3 separate regions of the Homo sapiens genome follow, and regions 1 and 2 are each linked to region 3. Evidence: promoter capture Hi-C in 16 types of primary human blood cells and fetal thymus (Javierre and others, 2016). All regions are on one chromosome and are shown on one strand. Each heading gives the region's core, a stretch centred on a gene start or on the middle of the fragment in contact. The rest is flanking DNA. Distances are from core to core; before and after follow the strand shown.

Region 1 (3,443 bases), core at 120-2,619, 260 kb after region 3:
GTTGACTTTCTGTCTTGATGACCTGTCTAGTGCTGTCAGTGGAGTATTGAAGTCTCCCACTATTATTGTGCTACTGTCTATCTCATTTCTTAGGTCTGCTAGTAATTATTTAATAAATTTGGGAGCTCTGGTGTTAGGTCCCTATATATTTAGAATCATGACACTTTCCTGTTGGAGTAAGACTTTTATCATTATATAATGTTCTCTTTGTCTTTTTAAACTGTTGTTGCATTAACATTTGTTTTGTCTGATATAAGAATAGCTACTCCTGCTTGCTTTTAGTTTATATTTACATGGAACATCTTTTTCCACCCCTTTACCTTAAGTTTATGTAAGTCCTTATGTGTTAGGTGAGTCTCTTGAAGATAGTAGATACTTGGTTGATGGACTTTTCAATTCATTCTGCCATTCTGTATCTTTTATATGGAGGATTTAGGCCATTTATATTCAGTGTTGGTATTGAGATGTGAGGTATGATTCTATTCATCATGCTAGTTGTTGCCTTAATACCTTGTGTTTTTTTAATCCTGTTATTGTTTTATAGACCCTATGAGAATTTTGCCTTAAGGAGGTTTATTTTGGTGTATTTTGAGGTTTTGTTTCAAGATTTGGAACTCCTTTTAGCATTTCTTATAGTGCTGGCTTGGTAGTGGCCAATTCTGCAGCATTTGTTTGTCTGAAAAAGACTTTATCTTTCCTTCATTTATGAAGCTTAGTTTTGCTGGATATAAAATTCTCAGCTGACAATTATTTTGTTTGAGGAGGCTAAAGATAGAACCCCAGACCCTAATTTCCTTTATAGGTTACCTGATACTTTTCTCTCACAGCTCCTAAAATTCTTTCCTTTGTCTTGACTTTAGTTAACCTGATAACTGTGTGCCTAGGTGACAATCTTTTTGCAATGAATTTCCCAGGTGTTCTTTGAGCTTCTTGTGTTTGGATGTACAAATCTCTAGCAAGGACAGGGAAGTTTTCCCCAATTATATCCTCAAGTAAGTTTTCCAGACTTTTAGATTTCTCTTCTTCCTCATGAACACCAATTATGCTTAGTTTTGGCCATTTAACATAATCCCAAATTTCTTGAAGGCTTTGCTCATTTTTAAAAAATTCTTTTTTCTTTGTCTTCGTTGGATTGGGTTAATTCAAAAACCTTGTCTTTGAGCTCTGAACTTCTTTATTATACTTGTTTGATTCTATTCATGAGACTTTCCAGTGCATTTTGTATTTCTCTAAGTGTGGCTTTCATTTCAAGAAGTTATGGTTGTTTTTTCTTTCATGTTATCTATTTATCTAGAGAATTTTTCATTCATATCATATCCTGTATTGTTTCATTCATATCCTGTATTGTTTCTGGCAATTCAGAGGTTTCTTCTTGGTTTGGATTCATTGCTGGGGAGCTCATGTGATTTTTTGGGGGTGTTATAGAACCTTCTTTTGTTGTATTACCAGAATTACTTTTCTGGTTCCTTCTCATTTTGGTAGACTATTTCAGTGGAAAGATCTGGAACTCAAAAGCTGCTGTTCAGATTCTTTTGTCCCATGGGGTGATCCCTTGATGTGGTGCTCTCACCCTTTTCCTAGGGATGGGGCTTCCTGAGAGCTGCAGTGATTGTTATTGCTCTTCTGGGTCTAGCCACCCAGTGGGGCTACCTTATCCTGTGCTGGTGCTGGGGAATGTCTGCAAAGAGTCCTGTGATGTTATCTGTCTTCAGGTCTTCCAGCCATGGGTACCAGCACCTGCTTTGATGGAGGTGGCAGGAGAGTGAAGTAGACTGTGTGACAGTCATTGGTTGTAGATGTGTTTAGTGTGCTGGCTTTCTCAGATGCTGGGTATTCTAGTAGTGAAGTTGATACATGGGTAGGCTCAGGACCTCTGGTTGCAGGCATTGGAATTAGCTATTGTTAACCCTATTTCTTGGGAGTAGAGTTATTCTGTCATGATTTGCTGTAACGGCCTGAGTTGGTGGCCTCCAGCCAGGAAGTGGCACTTTCAAGAGAGCACCAGCTGCAGTCGTAGAAGGGAGATATAAGCTTGCCCTAAGTTGGCCAGGATGAGTAAGGCCAGGGTAGGCAGTGGGCAGGGCCATAAAGTTCCCCAGGGTTTATGTCTTTTATGTTCAGCTGCAAGGGTGGGTAAAGAAAAGCCATCAGGTGGGAACAGGGTTAGGCAGGTCCGAGCTCAGACTCTCCTTGGGCAGGGCTTGCCACAGCCACTATGGGGGATGAAAGATTGTTCTCAGGCCAATGAGGTTATGTTCCAGAGGGGATTATGGCTGCCTCTGCTGTGCCATCTAGCTTGCCAGGGAAATGGGGGAAAGCCAGTAGTGATTGGCCCCACTCAGCTCCCATGCAGTTGGCGAGGCCGGTCTTCCTCCTGCAGTGCTCTGCCAGCAGTGACGAGTTTAGAACCAGGCAGCCAGTGCATGGGACTCAGACCTTGCCCTAGGCCATAAGCTTCGTTCCTGAGAAAGCAAGTGCAGCTTTCAGGCCTCATCCCTCCTCATCTGCCCACAATACCAGCAGTGGCTCCTGTGCTCATATCTGCAACAGTTCCCATTCAATCCCCAGATTCTGCTCAAGGAAATTTGTGCTCAGTCAAAATTATTACAAAATTCAGCTGGAAACTTCTTTTACCCCGTTCACCCTGTGACCCCTCCCTAATTCCACTGGCTGCCTTCCCCAAGGCCCCTGTGAGATATAGTCAGGGTTGTCTTCCCTGGGCCCAGGCTGGATACTGGGAGTGCCTACAAGGCTCTTCCTGCTGCTGCTTCTACTTTTATGTTTTGCATGGCTCCCTAAATCCGTTTCAGCTCCAGGTAAAGTTAAATCCTTCTCCTGGGATCTGGATTTTCAGGTTCTCCAGTGGGGATGTGTTTTCAGAGGTAGGTTTCCCCCCTCACACTTTGGGAACTCACAGTTTTTCACCTGTCTCATGGAATTTACAGCGACAGGCCACTCCTTTTAAAGGATTTGTGAATTCTTTTGGTTTTCTTGATATGTTCCTGCAGCGTTTCTTGGAGCAAAAGTTCATGGTGTGAGCCTCCACATGTTCTGTCTGTCCAAGTGGGAGCTGCATGTTAGCCCTGTCTCCTATCCGCCCTCTTCCTTCACTCTCCCTATTCAGATTTTCTATTCCTTCTTAAGTCTGTTTCAGTAATTTGTGTTCTCTAGGAATTTGTCCATTTCACCTAAATTTTCTAATTTATTGACAGAATTGCTTGTACTATTTCTTTATAATCCTTTTTCTTTTACCAAGACTGGAAATAAAGTCTTCTCTTTCATTTCTGATTTAGTTTTTCTTTCTTTCTTTCTTTTCTTTTTTTTTTTTTTTTTGAGACAGAGTCTCGCTCTTTCGCCCAGGCCGGACTGCAGTGACGCTCTCTCTGCTCACTGCAAGCTCTGCCTCCCGGGTTCACGCCATTCTCCTGCCTCAGCCTCCCGAG
Region 2 (3,225 bases), core at 275-2,774, 290 kb after region 3:
CCTTCTACATTTCTGACTGGTACTTCTTGGTCTTTTTTTTTGGCAGGTCTCTCTCACCCACTGTAAACATCACACTCCTCACCGCTCTTCTCTTTTGTTTACTCTTGTTTTAAGGCCACTGAGAGGACAAAGACTTCCTTTGAGTGAATTACACACAGTGGTCCCCCTTGCTTTTGTAGAGATGGGTCTTTCTCTCTTGCCCAGGTTGGACTCCAACTCCTGAGCTCCAGGGTTACTCCTGCCTCAGCCTCCCAAGTAGGGAGCCCCTTTTAAGTAGATGAATTAGAAGAAGGCAGAGCCATTTCCTCTTGTGCCACAGCCTAGACCAGGACGTAAGTTTGGTTAGGACTAGATTTTACCCTCATTCATGTCTTGCAGGTACCATTGAGCCAGAGCAAAACCTATGCAGTTGTACAGAGATCTCTCTCACTGGGTAGTATTCTTCATGCTCGTGGTTTTTTGTTTGTTGTTTGTTTTTTGTTTTTTTGGGTTCTTTTAATCCTTGCTGTTTTTGTTGTTTTGGGAAATGCAATTTTAAAAATGGGGGGCGGGGGGAGGGTAGGTGTAAAAATGTCTAGCTGCACCAGAGCTGTCCTACTTTAACACACCACCTCGTCATTGCACTCTGATAAATCAGATTGGCATGTATAATCAAAACAAGATTCACATCCAACTTTCATGTTTTCTGAGAACAGTAGGACACACAAAAGCACCTGGTAATATGTTTTTTCTGGATAAAATTACAGATTTTTTTTCTTCAGACTAGTTTTTCAAGAAGGTTTTTACTGATCAGGTTTTTCAACTCCTCTGTTTAATGATAAAAATTTTATAAAAATATATAGGTGTTAGGAAAATTCTTCGGGAACTATTGGAGGAAGGCAGGATAAACAATTTGCTATGTAAAGAAATGGCTGCTGATAAAGAATGTGTATATTTAATGATTAACATTTTTAAAAACCTGTTTGTAGTGTTTCTTTGTGTAATTTCTTTTCTATATTTACTTGCTAACGCACTTGCATGTCAAAGAAGAATTTGCAAGAAAAAAATGCAAACAGATATTAAATAACAATGAAAAAGATTATTGTTATTTCCACTAGAAGTCAGACAAGAGAAACATATGGAGACTTTTTTTTTCCTGAATCCTTCCTGAAATACAGTAAAGAAGAGCTGCTTGCAATATATATTAAACACAGTCACAGACTTTGCACTTCTTTCAGCTTTTCTATTGAGGGAAAAGAGAATGAGTCTATTACTGTAAATTATATTGTTGAAATTGTAGCCATTTATTACTCTGATTTTTTAAACAAAATGAATAGTTTATGAACTAGTAACAAAATTGTAGGCTTTTATAATGTTATATTATTTATCCAACTGTTGCTAAAGTGACTCTCCTAAGGATATATGAAATTCCTTATCTTTTATTAAAGGCAAACAATGTGAATCAGAGAAAAGAATTCATAATTCTATTATAATAAGTAGATGGCCACACACATCTTTGTAGTGAATATATATTAGACATTATAATATGTCTTCTTTAAAAGTTACATTAAACATTAAAACAGTAAAATCTGTACATGGTACTGGGAGTTTTATTTTTCCCCCTTTGCAACCACTAATGTTGAAAGATTGAAAAGCTGGGCTTGGGGTCAGGGAAACCTGGTCTTAATTCTGGGCCAGCATCTTGGTGGCCCTGTGATCTTAGGCTAGTCATCAACCTCCCTGGAGGGCACTGCTTGGGTTCATGATGGAAGAGGTCTTGTGGAACAAGGCCAGCAGCTGTGACTGCTTTGAGCAGTGACCAGAAATTTTGTGGGGCAGGAATTTAGAGTGAGTGGCGACCAGAAGAACGTACTCTTTCTGAGAACCCTAATATGTATTGGAGAAGGTGCTGGAATGCCCATAGGATATGTGGTAGAGACTTGAGTTAAATCACAGTTTCCTTCAATAGCCAAATGATTCAGAAGCTAGAACTTGAGGATGTTCCTAATACTTATAAATAATGCTGCCCAGAGCTATTGTTTTATCTTGTGACAGACTGTGCACTAAAACAGACTTTACAGGTTAAATGTCCATCTTATTAGCTCACTGTACCTCATTGCTGAGTGTCACTGATATGTCACAATTCCTTATTGTAGGCCCCAGGCTTCCTCCTGTCTTCTCTCACCATTCTTTTGTGACACCTGGTTTCTTTTCCTTTATTGCCTTTACTCTAGTCAGTTTGTACCACTCAATATTTACCTAAAAACTCCATCCTGCATGTTACATCTTTCCTCTTTTCATGCTGTTTCCTTCACTTAGAATGCCCATCTTTTATCCTGTTTTCCAAAATTCCATTTATTCTTCAAATTCCAGCTCAAATGCTATTGCTTCCACTGGGCTTTCTTTGATCTCATCAGAGTTATTCTTGTGTGCTCTCAGAGCATTATTTTGAGGATATTTTTTCCCTCTATCACACTGCTTGCTACATTCTGCTTTGCGATGTAGTGATGAGAAAGAAGGCTTCTTGGTGAATGGAATGCAGTTGAGGTGCATGCTGTGTGCACCACCCAGGTCTCTAACGGCCAGGGCGAAGCACTGAGCTCCCAGCTGCTGGGAGTATGGGTGACTGGCCCCTGGCAGCTGAGTCCCTTTCTAGAACCGAGCTGACTTGACCAGGTAGTATAACCTTTCCTGGGCTGCTAGTCTAAGGACTCATCTATCTGGGATGGCTGGGTTTACAAAGGGCAAGTCCCCTTGCCTCAAAGTGAAAGAGCTCTACAAGGCTGTCTCAGTTCCAGAGCTTCCCTTGACTCAGCCAAGATCTTGGTGGTGACTACATCACGGTTCAACTCTTCCTTCTGTCCTATCCTGCTTTCTTCTCACTCCTTAGGACTTGATCCCAAGGGCATTCCCCATTAAGTTTTCTCCATGCAAATTTCACCTCAGCATCTCTTTCCTGGGATCCCACCTTTTCCTCATTGGCAGCACTTGGCCCGTGTCTACGGAGGTAATGACACTGTGTTGATTCAGCAGAAGAGAGGTTCCTGGTCCTACCTTTTAAGCAAAGCCCAATATCAAAAATGTATCCAGTCTAGCTCTTGCTCTCATGACGTCTTTGAGTTGTTTAAAGGACTTACCTAGGAGACTGGGTCTTTTATTCTTAGATGAAAGTGCAACAAATATTGAATTAAGTTAAATCTGTTTCCTACAGTGGGAGAAACAGTTAAAGAAAGGTAAGAAACTCAT
Region 3 (3,048 bases), core at 468-2,967:
ATTTAGAGGTGTGTGTCTAATGCAAGCTAATCTCTTCTTTGAAACACCTAGGAAACAAAATTTAGGTCGAGTTGTACCTCATGTAGCTCCAAGATACTTCATTAGACAAGCAGCCCCTTCTCCAAGGCTTTGCTGCTATCTACCAAAAAACTGTCATTACAAAAGGACAAATGGCTGGTTCTGAGTCTGAAGGCACTTGCAGAACTGTGCTGTCCACATAGCAATAAGCAGTGCTCCCAAGTTCAAGAATCCTTTCAGTTATTACAGTAAGACGTATTTTGATATCTGCATGCATATAAAATTAATGAAATGCTTTATAGAAATGAAAATCTATGGATAATATGTCATTTTCTATGTAAATACCATCAAATTGGACTTTTTATTACCAAGTCCTCATTTCACGATTATGACTGACAAATGTGTGGCAATGATCCTCTTAAACATTTATATCTCAAAATTCCAGGAATTTTAAGCTATTTCCCTCTGCCCAAGAATGGACTTGAAACACTGCAAGCAGTTTTGTCTTCCATGAACATGACACAACCCACAAAATATTTATTATAGAGCAGGAAACCTCTTTAGTCTGCATCTTTCAGCATTTTTCCTTTTCTTCTTTTATTTTTTCTTAAATTTTTGAATTTGTCGTCTTTTTCTTTCTTTAAAAATAGACCCTAGAAACAGATCCTTTTCTTCTTTTGTGGTGATTTGCCCTTCTAATTATCTAATTATGACTTAATTTAATCTAAATAAATCTAAATGTTTGGGTTTATTATCTGAATATTAAAGATGAGAAGATAGGATTTGAACTCAGACCTGTTTGACTTCCAAATTCTGGTTTGCCCTACTATCCCGTAATGCCTCCTAGATGCCGATTAGTCTAAGCGGCTGCTCCACAAGGCTTTTAAGCATTCAAGAACTCTACTGGACCATTTGAGGGTCTGTTCTGGAGACAGACAGTGCTTCAAGTGCTGAGGGCTCAGGACTTCACCCTCCCAGGAGGTACACACAGTACAAAGCCTAACAATTTGTCAGCACATAATCAATTGAAACCACACTCTAAAGTTAAATTAGTTCCTTCCAAATGGGGCAGACACGTGCTGACCAATTAAGAGGCCCAAAGACTTGGGAGTAGAGGATGAATAGGAATAAATTGAGAAAGTATGCAGGAAAATTATTGAAGGAAGAATGAAGACGAGAATTCTCAATGCTAAGTTCTGGAAGATGCTGGAAGAGAACTGAATCCAAAACAAATATATTTATGTCAACTCATCATTGCTTACATTTTCTAGTCTAACAGAGCAGAACCATGAAATTGTTTGAAAAGTGAAAAGCCTCTTCTAAGTATACAAGCAGGGAGAGCATTAGGAATCGTAAATTAAAAGGACACAGGTCCTAGCAGAGAAGCAATGAAGCATTGGGGAAGAGGGTTTCTGGGGAATTTATGTGAACTTACAGAACTGTGGTCTGCTGTGGTACCTGAGGAATGTGGTCCAGCATCAAGTGCATGCAGCGGACGGTGCTCTTAAAGCAAAGGCACCGGCTGGGGCAGGGCAACCCTGGCAGGCACCACCCGGCCAGGAGAAAGAGAGTGGTCCAGCAGAACAGTCTGGGCTCCATCGCTCCATTCGCTGCTGGCCACGCGAAGAAGCAGCCGGAGGGAGAGCAGCAGCTGCAGCTGCAGCAGCAACCGCAGTGGTGGTGATGGTGGCTGCTGGACTGAGCCAAGTTTGGGAGCCGTGGTGGAAAGCAGCTCCCAGGGAAAGGACACCCCTCTGACCAATCCAGGAGGAGGGATATCACATTACAGGGCTGAGGGCACAAGCAGCTCTAGGAAGCACTAGACTCCCAGAGGCGAGGACGAGAAGCTTTTCAATGCAAAAGCCTCTTTCTAAAACACCGTGTTTTAGGCAGCATAATGCAAACAAACTTTTCCAAAATTACTTCCACTGCGCATTTGATGAAAAACCCGACCTCTTAGCCTCCAGCTGTCCTCTTGAAGCCCAAGTTGATTAAGAATGTATTGAAACAATGCAGAACAGCTTTTCTTCTTTTTTATCTGGTAACATTACCAAACCCTAAAGGGCAGGCAGAGTTCTAATTCGTTCATCTAGGTGCACATATTCTTTCTTTATTCCAAACTATGCTCTTTAATAAAAATTGTTTCATTTCCTTCTATATATTCTGCTGCTGAAACCCAACACATTTCACTCATGTAAGACTCAAACGGGCTACTTCTGATTTCTTCTTTTAACGTTTAAATTTATATGCTTAAAACCATGAACTCACATACCTCCTTCAAGAGGATACAACTGATGGACAAACCTAAGTATGTATATGTAAAGTCAAACAGATGCAAGCTCCCTCAGGACACACTGGCAGCAGTGGTCTTGCTGGTTGCAGACTTTTCATCAGCAGTTTGAACTGGCCATCTTTCCCTGAAGTGAGCAGCACCTCGTTGAGGACGTGTCTGAAAACTTAATAAATATGAAAACATCTACTTTTTGGTCATTCTGTAAGCAGGTATTTTTAAACAGATTTTTGGCTTTATCTTTAAAGACTAACATTTTCAAACAAAAATGTTTTAAATCCATAAAAGTAATAGAAAACAAATTAAAACTTGCATGGTCAATCCCAGATGATCAGACTAGTAGACCAATCTTAAGAGGAAAATAAGTTCATCCTTGTCTCTGCAGAAATGTTTCAGTCCCTTTACATTCTACTGTAGGCGAATACTGCCCTCTTTTGGCAAAATGTTCATATCTAAATATGTGATTTTGGGGAGATTAAAATGTAAAAAGATCTAAAAAACAAAACTAATCTCCATGAACAAGAATGATTTATTTTAAACTTTACATTTGACATTGTTCACATGACTTTTATTGTCCAAGTATACCAATAAAGCCAAAAAACGAAATTTATTCCTTTAAATCCCAACAATCACTATGCTCTTGGCAGTGCCTGTGATTTGGAGGACATAGACAAGACCTGCAGGTTTGTGCCTTGTTTGCAGTTCAAAATATAAAATACAAAAAATATAAATAATATAAA

The links. The method cuts DNA at HindIII sites, captures the fragments that hold promoters and counts their contacts. A CHiCAGO score of 5 or more calls a contact.
Region 1: a contact is called between a fragment that was not itself captured here and the fragment with the promoter of PXDNL in region 3, in 1 of 17 cell types (activated CD4 T cells). The highest score is 5.4, in activated CD4 T cells.
Region 2: a contact is called between a fragment that was not itself captured here and the fragment with the promoter of PXDNL in region 3, in 1 of 17 cell types (total CD4 T cells). The highest score is 5.4, in total CD4 T cells.

Annotation. Positions count from the first base shown.
Region 1 is chr8:52,068,124-52,071,566 of GRCh38, forward strand. No RefSeq gene overlaps it. Among named protein-coding and RNA genes, the nearest start is that of ST18-AS3, 120 kb to the right of the region's middle. The HindIII fragment of the contact is 1,320 bases long and covers 710-2,029 here.
Region 2 is chr8:52,094,036-52,097,260 of GRCh38, forward strand. No RefSeq gene overlaps it. Among named protein-coding and RNA genes, the nearest start is that of ST18-AS3, 99 kb to the right of the region's middle. The HindIII fragment of the contact is 4,858 bases long and covers 1-3,225 here.
Region 3 is chr8:51,807,728-51,810,775 of GRCh38, forward strand. It overlaps PXDNL (peroxidasin like), which reads right to left and starts at 1,718. Exons shown (of 23, transcript NM_144651.5): 1 at 1,454-1,718. The coding sequence starts at 1,617. RefSeq lists enhancers at 1,091-1,613, 1,614-2,135. The HindIII fragment of the contact is 1,936 bases long and covers 1-1,863 here.